Regions from separate parts of the Homo sapiens genome. Here all the other regions are linked to region 1. The links are contacts of gene promoters, found by promoter capture Hi-C in blood cells and fetal thymus (Javierre and others, 2016). All regions are on one chromosome and are shown on one strand. Each heading gives the region's core, a stretch centred on a gene start or on the middle of the fragment in contact. The rest is flanking DNA. Distances are from core to core; before and after follow the strand shown. Region 1 holds the start of LINC01397 (long intergenic non-protein coding RNA 1397). Region 2 holds the start of LAMTOR5 (late endosomal/lysosomal adaptor, MAPK and MTOR activator 5). Region 3 has its middle 7.4 kb from the start of CYMP-AS1. Region 4 holds the start of LOC105378899 (a long non-coding RNA gene).

What was found. Contacts are between HindIII fragments. The CHiCAGO score rates a contact against its expected background, and 5 or more counts as called.
Region 2: the fragment with the promoter of LAMTOR5 here is called in contact with the fragment with the promoter of LINC01397 in region 1 in 7 of 17 cell types (neutrophils, naive CD8 T cells, erythroblasts and 4 more); the score reaches 7.7 in neutrophils.
Region 3: a contact is called between a fragment that was not itself captured here and the fragment with the promoter of LINC01397 in region 1, in 1 of 17 cell types (fetal thymus). The highest score is 5.9, in fetal thymus.
Region 4: a contact is called between a fragment that was not itself captured here and the fragment with the promoter of LINC01397 in region 1, in 1 of 17 cell types (fetal thymus). The highest score is 5.6, in fetal thymus.

What each region holds. Positions count from the first base shown.
Region 1 is chr1:110,081,350-110,084,049 of GRCh38, reverse strand. It overlaps LINC01397 (long intergenic non-protein coding RNA 1397), which reads right to left and starts at 1,362. Exons shown (of 4, transcript NR_126382.1): 1 at 1,198-1,362. The HindIII fragment of the contact is 6,914 bases long and covers 1-2,596 here.
Region 2 is chr1:110,406,258-110,408,957 of GRCh38, reverse strand. LAMTOR5 (late endosomal/lysosomal adaptor, MAPK and MTOR activator 5) reads left to right here and starts at 1,264. Exons shown (of 4, transcript NM_001382293.1): 1 at 1,264-1,372; 2 at 2,579-2,640. The coding sequence starts at 1,338. LAMTOR5-AS1 (LAMTOR5 and SLC16A4 antisense RNA 1) reads right to left here and starts at 1,149. Exons shown (of 3, transcript NR_102697.1): 1 at 1,004-1,149. RefSeq lists an enhancer at 1,093-1,322. The HindIII fragment of the contact is 8,453 bases long and covers 1-2,700 here.
Region 3 is chr1:110,496,308-110,499,007 of GRCh38, reverse strand. No RefSeq gene overlaps it. Among named protein-coding and RNA genes, the nearest start is that of CYMP-AS1, 7.4 kb to the right of the region's middle. The HindIII fragment of the contact is 5,167 bases long and covers 1-2,700 here.
Region 4 is chr1:110,472,130-110,474,829 of GRCh38, reverse strand. LOC105378899 (a long non-coding RNA gene) reads left to right here and starts at 1,184. Exons shown (of 2, transcript XR_947699.2): 1 at 1,184-1,265; 2 at 1,970-2,288. It overlaps LOC105378898 (a long non-coding RNA gene), which reads right to left and starts at 1,073. Exons shown (of 2, transcript XR_001738181.1): 1 at 1,036-1,073; 2 at 748-886. The HindIII fragment of the contact is 581 bases long and covers 1,090-1,670 here.

The DNA.
Region 1 (2,700 bases), core at 113-2,612:
GGAGGCCGAGGAAAGGTCGCGGCGTGGCGGGGAGACTAGGGCGCCCGGAGGCACAGGGTGCGAAGCTGGAGAGGAGCTGAGAGCCGCCGCCACTGCCGCTGCCGCGCCTGGACCCTCCCTCCGCAGTCCCCGCACCCACGCCGAGACTCAATTACTTTCAGGTGTGGACCATTTAATAAAATAAATCTTCCGGGGCAGGAGGCAAGTTTTTAGGGGCCAAACTCAAAGCAGCCGATTTCTAATGAATAAAGAGGGGCTTCCCTAAAATATCATACGGTTTTGGCGGAGGGGGAACCGAAGTTGGGGAACAGGGAGTGTCTCTTCCTGAAGTGATACTGTCATTGGCTGGGTGGAGAGGCCCGGAGAGACTTACTTTCTGTCGCTTTCTGACTCTCCTTGTCTCTGTCTCCAGCCATCTCTGTTCTTGAGTACATCAGAATGGAATCAACGGTTTTTGCATCGAATCACCATTAAACCAGCCAGATCCTCCCCAAGCGGAGACCCAGTGAAACTGAAAGCTCTTTCCCTCACCTCTTTCTCTTTGTTTCTCCTTTTTCTCCATCATCCATTGCCCAACATTCTCTTCATCTGAGATTTCCAAACCCGGCTTTGCAATACTCCAGGGAGACTCCAATTTACTCTAGGGCTTTGGGAAATGCTCAAAATGAAATAAACTTTAATTGACTTTAATTATTTAACTGCAAGTTATAGACCCCTGATTGGTCAGGGGAAGCAGAGAGGATGTTGGTGAATCAAACAAACCATCCCAGGATGTCACAGCTCCCTGGAGGTGAGGAATGCTGGCTTCAGCATTTCGGGGCTCAGGAACGAATCTGGGCTCCGGAAGAGAAAACCAAGTTCCCAGGAGAGTGGGGATTTGATTTCTTAAGGTTTGGGGTCAAGGAAGGCTCTCACTGACAAGAGGGACTGGACACTCTGTCCTACCCTGGGCTGCCTCCCACACCCCCTTGCTAACCATCTCCATCCCGGTTTTTGGAGGATGAAGGGAGTGGGTTTCTTCCTTCCCACTGCATGTAAAATCCTTCAGTAAGGTCTAGTGACACTGGACAAACTGCTTCCTTCTCTGTTTGCTAGAAAATTCAGACCACAACACAACTTTTGTATGAATTTCCCAGGAATCGGAGCTGATGTAAACACAGTCTATTATGGTTCTGCTCTTTTAGAAGAGTTACTCACCCCAAAGTCTCAGAGGGCTCCTTCTGCCTCCTCACACGGCCAGATCTAGGAAGCTGGTGGAGGGCAACTCACTCTGATGCAGCACCTGACAAGGGCCCACATGTTTCCCGTGCAGAGAACAAATTTGCCCCATTAAAGCGTTACTCTGTTGGGGAAAAGACTGATGCAATATTGGAAACATGCTGGGCCCACTGTGAGAGCCGGAAGAAGAGGCAGATCTTCCCAGGAAGGCAGCAAAGGCCAGTGGGCGAAACTATTCTTGCCACATCCACCCTCACTTGGCCTGGTAAATTAAGGGAGGGATTATTGACCAAAACATCTGCACAGAGCAAGACTATGGTGCTGGTGGTGTCATTACAGGGAGGGCATCTGGGGACAGACAGGGGAAGATGGTGCCAGTGTCTTGGGGAGCAGCCAGGGGAGTGTGACTTGTCCACCTGAGCTTGGGGCCAGACTGGAAAGGGACCATGTAGCTACCAAGTCCACTTCCAAGAGCCTGAACTTTAATGGAAAATAATTCCATAGTTTGGGTCCCAGCGACACTACTGATCTAAGTAGCTTATTAACAAATGGAAAATATATAAACCACACAACAATTGCCTCTAAGAAAAAATGTATTAAAATCCCCCCAAGTTATTTGCAAAATAAATAGCTGAGACCATATGGGTGAGGGGGAGAGTGGCTGTATCCTAACTAGCTGTGTGCTCTTGGCAAAAGTTCCCTCTCTAGGCCTCTGTTCCCTCATTTCTAAGTGAAGATGGCAAACTAGATCAGGGGTTCTCAAATTTTAGAGTACATTAAGATCACCTAGAAGCAACTTGTGAAAACAAGGATTGTTGGGCCCCACCCCGAGAGTTTCTGATTTAGTAGCTCTGGGGTAGGGCCCAACAATTTGCCTTTTTTTTTTTTTTTTGAGATGGAGCCTCGCTCTGTCACCCAGGCTGGAGTGCAGTGACAAGATCTCTGCTCACTGCAACCTCCACCTCCTAGGTTCAAGCGATTCTCCTGCCTCAGCTTCCTGAGTAGCTGGGATTACAGGTGCCTGCCACTGTGCCCAGCTCATTTTTGTACTTTTAGTAGAGTCGGGGTTCCGTCATGTTGCCCAGGCTGGTCTATGAACTCCTGACCTCAAGTGATCCACCCACCTCGGCCCCCCAAAGTGCTGAGATTACAGGTGTGAGCCACCACACCCGGCCATAATTTGCCTTCCTAACAAGTTCCTAGCTGTTGCTTCTGCTGCTGGCCTGAGGCCTATACTTTAAGAACCTTTGGACTCGATGATGTTTAAGCTCCCATCCAGAACCAACATTCTGTTCTATCCCATACTCCTATATTTCCCCTGCACACCCTAGAGTGTTTACAGCCAAATACGAGAGGCCGATGTTTTTACACCCAAGCTTGTACCCCCTGTCATCAATGCAGAATAAATCTTTCAGCTGGCCCACAGAGACTGGTCACCCTGCCCACTGAGGGATTCCTGACCTCTCAGGAAAGATATTCCAA
Region 2 (2,700 bases), core at 15-2,514, 330 kb before region 1:
ACTGCACTCCAACCTTAATCCACAATTAAGATACAGCTATAAAATGGAATATTTTGCAACTACTACAAAGGATGTAAGTGAAAACTTGACATGGAAAGACATTTATTCTAAACTCTGTAAAGAAGGCCAGCTACAGAATTGTACCTCCAGTATGTATGTCAATTTTGCTTACAAAACAAACAAAACAAAAAAAACCATGCTAGGCGTGGTGACTCAGCCTGTAATCACATTTTGGGAGGCTGGAGTGGGAGGATCTGTTGAAGCAAGGAGTTTAAGACCAGCCTGGACAACACAGCGAGACCCCCATCTCTACAAAAAAACGTAAAAATTAGCCAGACATGATGGCTCGAGGCTGTGGTCCTAGCCAGTCGAGAGGCTGAGAGGTGAGGATAGCTTGAACCCAGGACGTCCGGGTTGCAATGAGCTATAATCGTTCTACTGCACTACAGCCTGGGTAACAGAGCAAGACCCTGTCCCCCAAAAAATTTATTTTAAAAAGGCAAACGAAAAAACATTAAAAGTATACATTTACAAAGACAACTATCTGAAAGGATATTCTCCAAGAAGTTAAAAGTCGTCTTTGGACAGTGGGGCCATAGATGTTTTCCTATTTTTACCAGCTTTATAATTAATTTTTAAAAGTTATTTTCAAGTAGTCCTACCCAGTCTTCCTTACGAGTTAGGACTCAAATGCCACTCTCTTCCCCTAAACTGTCCTGAGTCCCCTCACCATAATAAGCACCAATGTCTTCGTTAAAATCCCGACACTGCCAACACTCAGCTAGGGGGTTGAACCTTGCTCCATCTCGTCCTTTAGTCTCTGTGTGCGTCTTTCCCCCTACAAGCCTACTGACCCCCTCCAAGAGGTCCCGTGTCTTCCCCGTACTTGCCCCACAGGCTAGATCAGACCCTGTCTGACCCCTGGGTTATTGTAAAACTTAAGATCTGTCCCCTAGGTCTCGGAGTCGGTTGAACTAGGGTCCAAAGGTTAAAAAACACTGACACAAAATGCCAGGCCACGAACTGAAGCACTGAGGCCCGGCTGCAGACCTCTCCCGAGAGGGGAATAATCCGTGCCGGCCGGTTCCGCCATGGAGCCAGGTGCAGGTCACCTCGACGGTCACCGCGCGGGGAGCCCAAGCCTTCGTCAGGCTCTGTGCGACGGAAGCGCAGTGATGTTTTCCAGTAAAGAACGCGGACGTTGCACCGTGATCAATTTTGTCCCTTTGGAGGCGCCGTTACGGTCCACGCCCCGCTCGCGTCAAGTGACTGAGGCCTGTGGTGGAGAAGGACGTGCCGTGCCGCTGGGTTCTGAGCCGGAGTGGTCGGTGGGTGGGATGGAGGCGACCTTGGAGCAGCACTTGGAAGACACGTGAGTAGTGCGCGCCTCTTCGGCCTGTCCTGAGGTCGCGGCGGAGGAACTTGAGCGGAACGAAAGGCGCGAGCTGCGAGTACCGGCCAGGGCGTCTCGGGGACGTCGCGCGACCCCCGGGACACGGGATGAGGGGGCTAAACTCTACCCAAGGCCGCAGGGCGGGGCGGGTGACCCGGAATTAAAATCCTGCCGGGCACCGCACATTCCCTCTTGAGCGAGTCTCCCGGGCCCAGGCCACGGGCCAAAACTGCCTATCTCGTTGTTGAAATCGTCTTTACGGTCAGGGTGGTTCTGCGGAAGTTTTAGAAAACGGGTTGACTTTTGGGAAGATTGTGCCAGTTGTGCAGTGTCGAGCCCTGCAGTGTAAACAAACACGTATCTCCTGTGTGTAACCTATCAGTTACTTGGTGCTTAAGTAGATAAAAATCATTCTTTAAATTTTTCGAACAAGCAGTATCTATGTAAAATTCAAAACTGGAAAAGTGTAAAGGGTACAGAGAGACACCTGCCTCCCACCGATGTCCCTCAGCTTCCACTTACCCTCCAGGAGGTAACTTGAGTTTTTCAACAGTTGTTTTAAATGAGTTAGTACTAAAACATGCGTTTTTAACAAGAGTGAAAACATCCTAGATGTTTTTCACGCAGTGTTTGTGGCCCTCCAGAACTCAGCAGTACTTAGCACATTTTTTTCTCTCATCAGAGAGAAACTGGTTTATTTCAATTAATTAACTAGAACTTAAATTTTTTGTGTTCTTTTTTTGAGACGGAATTTCGCTCGTCTTCCAGGCTGGAGTGCAATGGCGTGATCTCGGCTCACTGCAACCTCCGCCTCCCAGGTTCAAGCGATTCTCTTGCCTCAGCCTCCCGAGTAGCTGGGATTACAGTCATGCGCCACCACGCCTGGCTAATTTTGTATTTTTAGTAGAGACGGGGTTTCTCCATGTTGGTCAGGCTGGTCTTGAACTCCCGACCTCAGGTGATCCGCCCACCTGGGCCTCCCAAAGTGCTGGGATTACAGGCGTGAGCAACCGCGCCCGGCCCTAGAACTTAATTTTTTTCTTAGGGTGTGACAATGAAAAAAGATTGAGAAATATTGATTTAAAGCACTTAATGCCTGGTACATAGAACACCTGTATGTTTGTACTTATTTAAATCCTTTTTCTCCCATTATGTACTTCAACTCTCTTGTGTTCCTGGAATTAGAATGAAGAATCCCTCCATTGTTGGAGTCCTGTGCACAGATTCACAAGGACTTAATCTGGGTTGTAAGTATCTCTCATACCAACTATTTGATGAATTGCATAGCATCTGATGTTGACTTGGAG
Region 3 (2,700 bases), core at 184-2,683, 410 kb before region 1:
CCCTGGCTTGCAGAAGGCCACCTTCCCACTGCATCCTCCCATGGCCTTTCCTCTGTGCATGCACATCGCTGGCATCTCTTCCTCTCCTTCTAAGGACACCAGTCACATCAGATGAGGGCCTACCTATATGACCCAGTTAACCTTAATTACTTTTTCAAAAGCCCCATCTCTAAACACAGCCACTTTCGGGGTTGGGGCTTTAGCATGTGAATTTGAGGAGACACAATTCAGTCCATAACATCCCCCTTCCTACCAGTTTCCATCACCTCACAGCTGTGGACTGCCTCTGGCTTCAGCTCTCACATCCTCCAGCAAACCTCGCTGACATGAGAAAGGTCACATCCTGTTATCCAGGGAGACTTTGTAGGTTGTTAGGAGACTGGTGAAGTCCAGGTGGCCTGTCTGGAGCAGTAGACAGAGGAGTGGGTCACAGGCCCTGCCCTGACCTGGGGAAGGAGAGGCTTTCACAAACAGGAGGAGAGCACACTTGGGCTTTCCAGGCACGGGGCCGCAGCTGCTTCTCTCTTTTCCATTCAAATCCCTGCTCTACGTCAGGGGCTTGGAAGCCCCGGCTGAATGGGAATCACACCTTCTGGACTAAAAACTGGGACGTGAGGCCTAACAAAAGATTTTTGTGATGTTTGCTGGCGTAAGTAACAGTCTGACTGATGCAGTGTGATTTCAGGATTACCAGCTTTTTTTAGGACACTGCAATCAGTTGAGGGAACTATGGGACAGAATATTGAAAATCCAAATCCAAAATATGGTCCCTCCCAATAAATCTCACCAAGACCAAACTCCCAATAACTCTTACCTCCATAAAGCTCTATGAGGATGAAGAGCATGTTTTGCTCACCATCGTGGCTTCAGCACCTGGTGATAGGGATGCTCTGTAAATATTTGATGAGAGAGAAAGAAAGACAATTCATTTGACAAGGCACACGCCCAACACATTTGTCTCTCCGACCCCAGGCCAGAGCTGCCAGCTGTGTGAGAAAAAAAGACAGTCCCCTGTGTCATCCTCTTTCATCTTCCTAGCTCAGGCACCTCCAGTGGGGCCAGTGATTTTCCAGTGTCCCTCTGCTCCTGTTGGAGAGACACATCAAGTCCCACCTAGTACCTGCACCCCTTGGGGCCTCACTAGTCCCCAAGCTGGGGTGTTCCCAAGGCCGGGGCAACTCCAGCCCTGGGAAAGAGCTACTTTTAGGGCCTGGGGAAGGTAAGGACTAATGGGAACCAGGGCAGCATGGGGATGACAGAGAGGAAGAGAAGACACCACTCTTAGGACGCTGCTTAAGGCTAGAAGGAAGATCCAGATCTAAGTGGTCAAAGGAGAGAAGGTGGCTTGGGAGACATATGCACAAGTGCCCACTGCCCTTTGCCAGGAAGCACTCCGTGGGATGCAGAAAGCCATTTTTCTCCCTCTTGGGTCCAAATAAAATCTTTGAAGCCCAGTCCAAATCCATACCCAGGCTGCCACCCAGTGATAGAGTGTCCACGGGGCACTTTCTGCACCAGCCGTAATCAGTTCATTCATCAGACTTTCAAGCCGAAGAATAATTTCTGAAGATTCTTGGATTCCCAGTCCACTCTCACCCTGACTGGTCTGCGTCTGGGACTCCCAGGAAAAGCGCGGACTCAGGAAAGCACTTGGAGATTCTCTACTCTTTGCGTATCATCCACTCTACAAGGGGCATGAGCCCAGGTGGTGGAAGTCAAGCCAAAGCATCCCTTCAGCTTGAGGCCACCTACCTTCCTAACTCAGGAGCTGAGGCCAAGAGACTGGCCACCAGCATAACTCGGGAGGTCCCAGGGCACTGACTTAAGCCTAGGCATCTGGACAGCCAGTTTGCCCACAGCCACCTCATTGCATAAGAGCTATGCTCTCGATGAGAAATGTGCACCCCAGGGAGCAGATATGGGGGTGTGGCTGAGATTTGGCACTGGACTTCCAAAGCTGCAGGAGGTGTGGCTGGCACCTGTGGGCCCAGGACCCTCCCTGACACATGGGAGGCCTGTCTCCAGAGGCTCCTTATTCCCTCTTACAGGCCCTAAAAATAAAGCTACCAGGACACAGTTATTCTGGCCTCAGTGTTAAACAGAGCCCTGGGAAAGAAAGGGGCTCTCGAGTTTCATGGATGGGGTCAGAGGAGAGGGCAAGGACAAAAGGTGGTGGAGGCTTAGTGCCCAGGAATGGAGCTTCAGCTTTGGCTTTGAGGATACCAAGGCCACCAGCACAGAGAAGGTGGCCAGGGCCATGAGAAGTCCTTAAAAAGGAAGCACAATTCCACCAGCCAGAATGGGGTGACAAGTTTGGTCTGCATGTTATCCAGCCAGCATCAGCCTCAGCTCTGAAACTCCATGGAGTGCCTAGTGGACCAGATCCTAGCTGTCTTCCACCCCTCCACTACTACGGAATGATGGGCTAATTTGCTGACCTGGAAAGCTAATGCTATTCCCAAGCCCCTCAGGCACACACAGCATGCACATCCTCACCCAGCCAGCCCTAGCTCAAAATGTAATTCCAGTATTACAGATGATCCAGAAAGATCAGAAAGGGGGGATTATCGGAGAGCAAAGGTTGAGAAGGAAATGGTTAACCAGAGAGATGTCCAGTGAGTGAGGGATTTGAGGGCAGGGACCATATATCCTGAGTCTGCGTGCTTCGTGTAGAAGCTGCCACTGTGCCCTGCACATAGG
Region 4 (2,700 bases), core at 131-2,630, 390 kb before region 1:
AAAGCAAGAAGAAGGGGAAGCGGGAAGAAGCAGTACCAGCAGACCGCTCATGCCTGATGAACTTCATTTTATAGCTCCCAGCTACAAGGTAGGCCGGAAAATTGAGGATTGCACTTTTTTGTCTGTATAGTGGAAGCAGACAATCAGGTTCTGTTGAGCCCACCCACATTGTCTGCAGTAACCACCCACTCCACCACCAGCGCAGTTTGCTCCTCGGTCTGGGATGTTCTCAGAGTGCTTATCTCACTGCTCAGTGATGGCTTACACATCAGCCTCCCTCTGGACTAAGAACTCTAGGGCAGGAATTTTGTCTGAATTTTCTCTGTAACTCTAAACACCTAGAACAATGCCTGACCTAAAATAAGCACTCAGTAAATGTTAAATTCATCCTCCCATTCACTCAACAGCTATATACAGAAGTAAGCAAATGAGGCCATGGGACTTCCTTCCCAAAAGAGGTCTCCAGTGGCTGAAATCAGGGAGTAAGTGCCCACGTGACCCACATATGGACAGTCAGTGGCCTGTGGCCCACCACAGCAACACCTCCTCCTCTGCCAATGAGGTCACCTGGCCCTTGTGCCAAGCACTGAGCATGTAGAGGTGAGTAAGCTCCTCTCCCTGCCCTCAGGGAGCTTGTAGTCCAGTGGAACACACAGACGTGTAGGCAACTAAGTATAATTCAATGCATGAGTCCTTTCCTTGGCTTACGGACCAGTGCTACTGGGGAAGGGAGAGTAGAGCACTCGCCTGTATGAGGAAAGGCAGGGAGCTTCATCCAGGGATGAGCTGGTATATTGATCATGTTCTCTGATTTTCCATATTCTTGATGCTCTGGCATCTGGGGCCTTGATCCTTGAGAGACTGCCCTCACAGGACTAGCTAATTCCTAGGCATGGCGAAAGACTCCCCTGTGAGCCTGTCTTTGATATACGAACCAACCCACCCACAGCCCACACCCCCAACCCTCTCCTTTATCAAACTCTCAAAAAGCAAGCCAATTTTCTCCCTGCCCTAAACCACCCCAGGGTCAAATACCACTCCTCCAGCCCAGAGTCCGCTGAAATTACTCAAACTATACAATTCTAAGCTTACTCAGAATACCTACCCTGTGTCACCCATTCCTTCATGTAATAATGCAATAAAGGCTCTATGTCACAATTTCCTTTCCCTTGACCACCCCAGACAACTCCCCCCCAACCTCCACCTCCTGACTGACCCCAGTGCTTCCCAATGTGGCCCTACATGCCTCCTATGTCTAGGGGTCTGTAAGTATAAACTTCTTCCTTCATGACAATCATGTCCATGTCTGCATGTCCTACCATACCTAATTAAAACAAACCCCAGGTATAAATTTCAGAACAGCTGGCTAGAAGGGATATAATGGGGCTAGTCCTGGGGAGCATCTAGCACATCCCTAGGCAGATCTAGCCGGGAAACTCAGCTGACAGGTGCTGCACTGATCAAGGTAACACTGAGATGCTGACTTAGATACAGAGTGAGAGATGAGATGACCCCTGGGAGATCCTCCTCCCCCTAGTCTGGACCCTCTTTGATGCTCCCAACTAGAGGACTAGACATCAGTTTCATGATGCTCCTGCCACTAACATTTCAAGCTAATTTGGGAAGTGGTGAGGAGAGATCCAGCTGCCCCCTCAGCAAAGCATCAAGCTTGATCACATAACAATGAATGTTGGCAAGCATGGCCACTGACCAGGCAGCATCCTAAGCCCTTTACATGTATAAAATCACTTCTTCCCAGCCACACACCACCACAATCCTGTAAATGAGGTACTATCTGTCTCATTTTAAGGGAACCGAAGCACAGATCAGTTCAATAACCTGCCCAAGATCACACAGTCAGTAAGGGGCAGGCCCAGGATTCAGACTCAGGTAGCATGACTCTAGAATGAGGGCCCTGGATGGTGACAACACAAAGCCGGAGCTGACACTTGCATTTTTGTTGCTACAGTGCCCAGCAGGCACCGTGGAGATGGGGGCAGATGTCTGGAAGCAGAGAAGGTGCCGAGTGGAAAGCAGGGGATGAAGGCTACTTTCCTCCTGGGCAGCCGCCGGCGGGACCAGGCAGGCTTTTCTCTCTCGCCCAGGGTGCGGTGTAGAGCCTCCACTGGACTCCACCACGGGGAGGAAGACCGAGGCTACCCAGCCTCCTGGCTGCTGGCCATGGCTCTAGCCCACCCTTGCCTGTGTGTCAAGAGAGAATCCAAAACAATGTTCCTTTTGCTGTAAAGGGCATGATTAGGACAATTGGCAAAATAGTCTACATCAGATGATAGTATTGTTCTGATATTAATTTCCTGACTTCGATATTTGTACCAATTTTCATGTTAATATTTACAAGAAAATGTCCTTGATTTGGGGGGAATACTGAAGTAAAGAGTATTATGTCAGGCCGGGCACAGTGGCTCACGCCTGTAATCCCAGCACTTTAGGAGGCTGAGGCAGGTGGATCACTTGAGGTCAGGAGTTCAAGGCCAGCCTGGCCAACATGGTGAAACCCGGTCTCTACTAAAAATACAAAATTAGCCAGGCGTGGTGGTGGGTGCCTGTAATCCCAGCTACTTGGAAGGCTGAGGCAGGAGAATTGATTGAACCCAGGAGGTGGAGGTTGCAGTGAGCCGAGATCGCGCCATTGCACTCCAGCCTGGACAACAAGAGCAAAACTTCGTCTCAAAAAAAAAA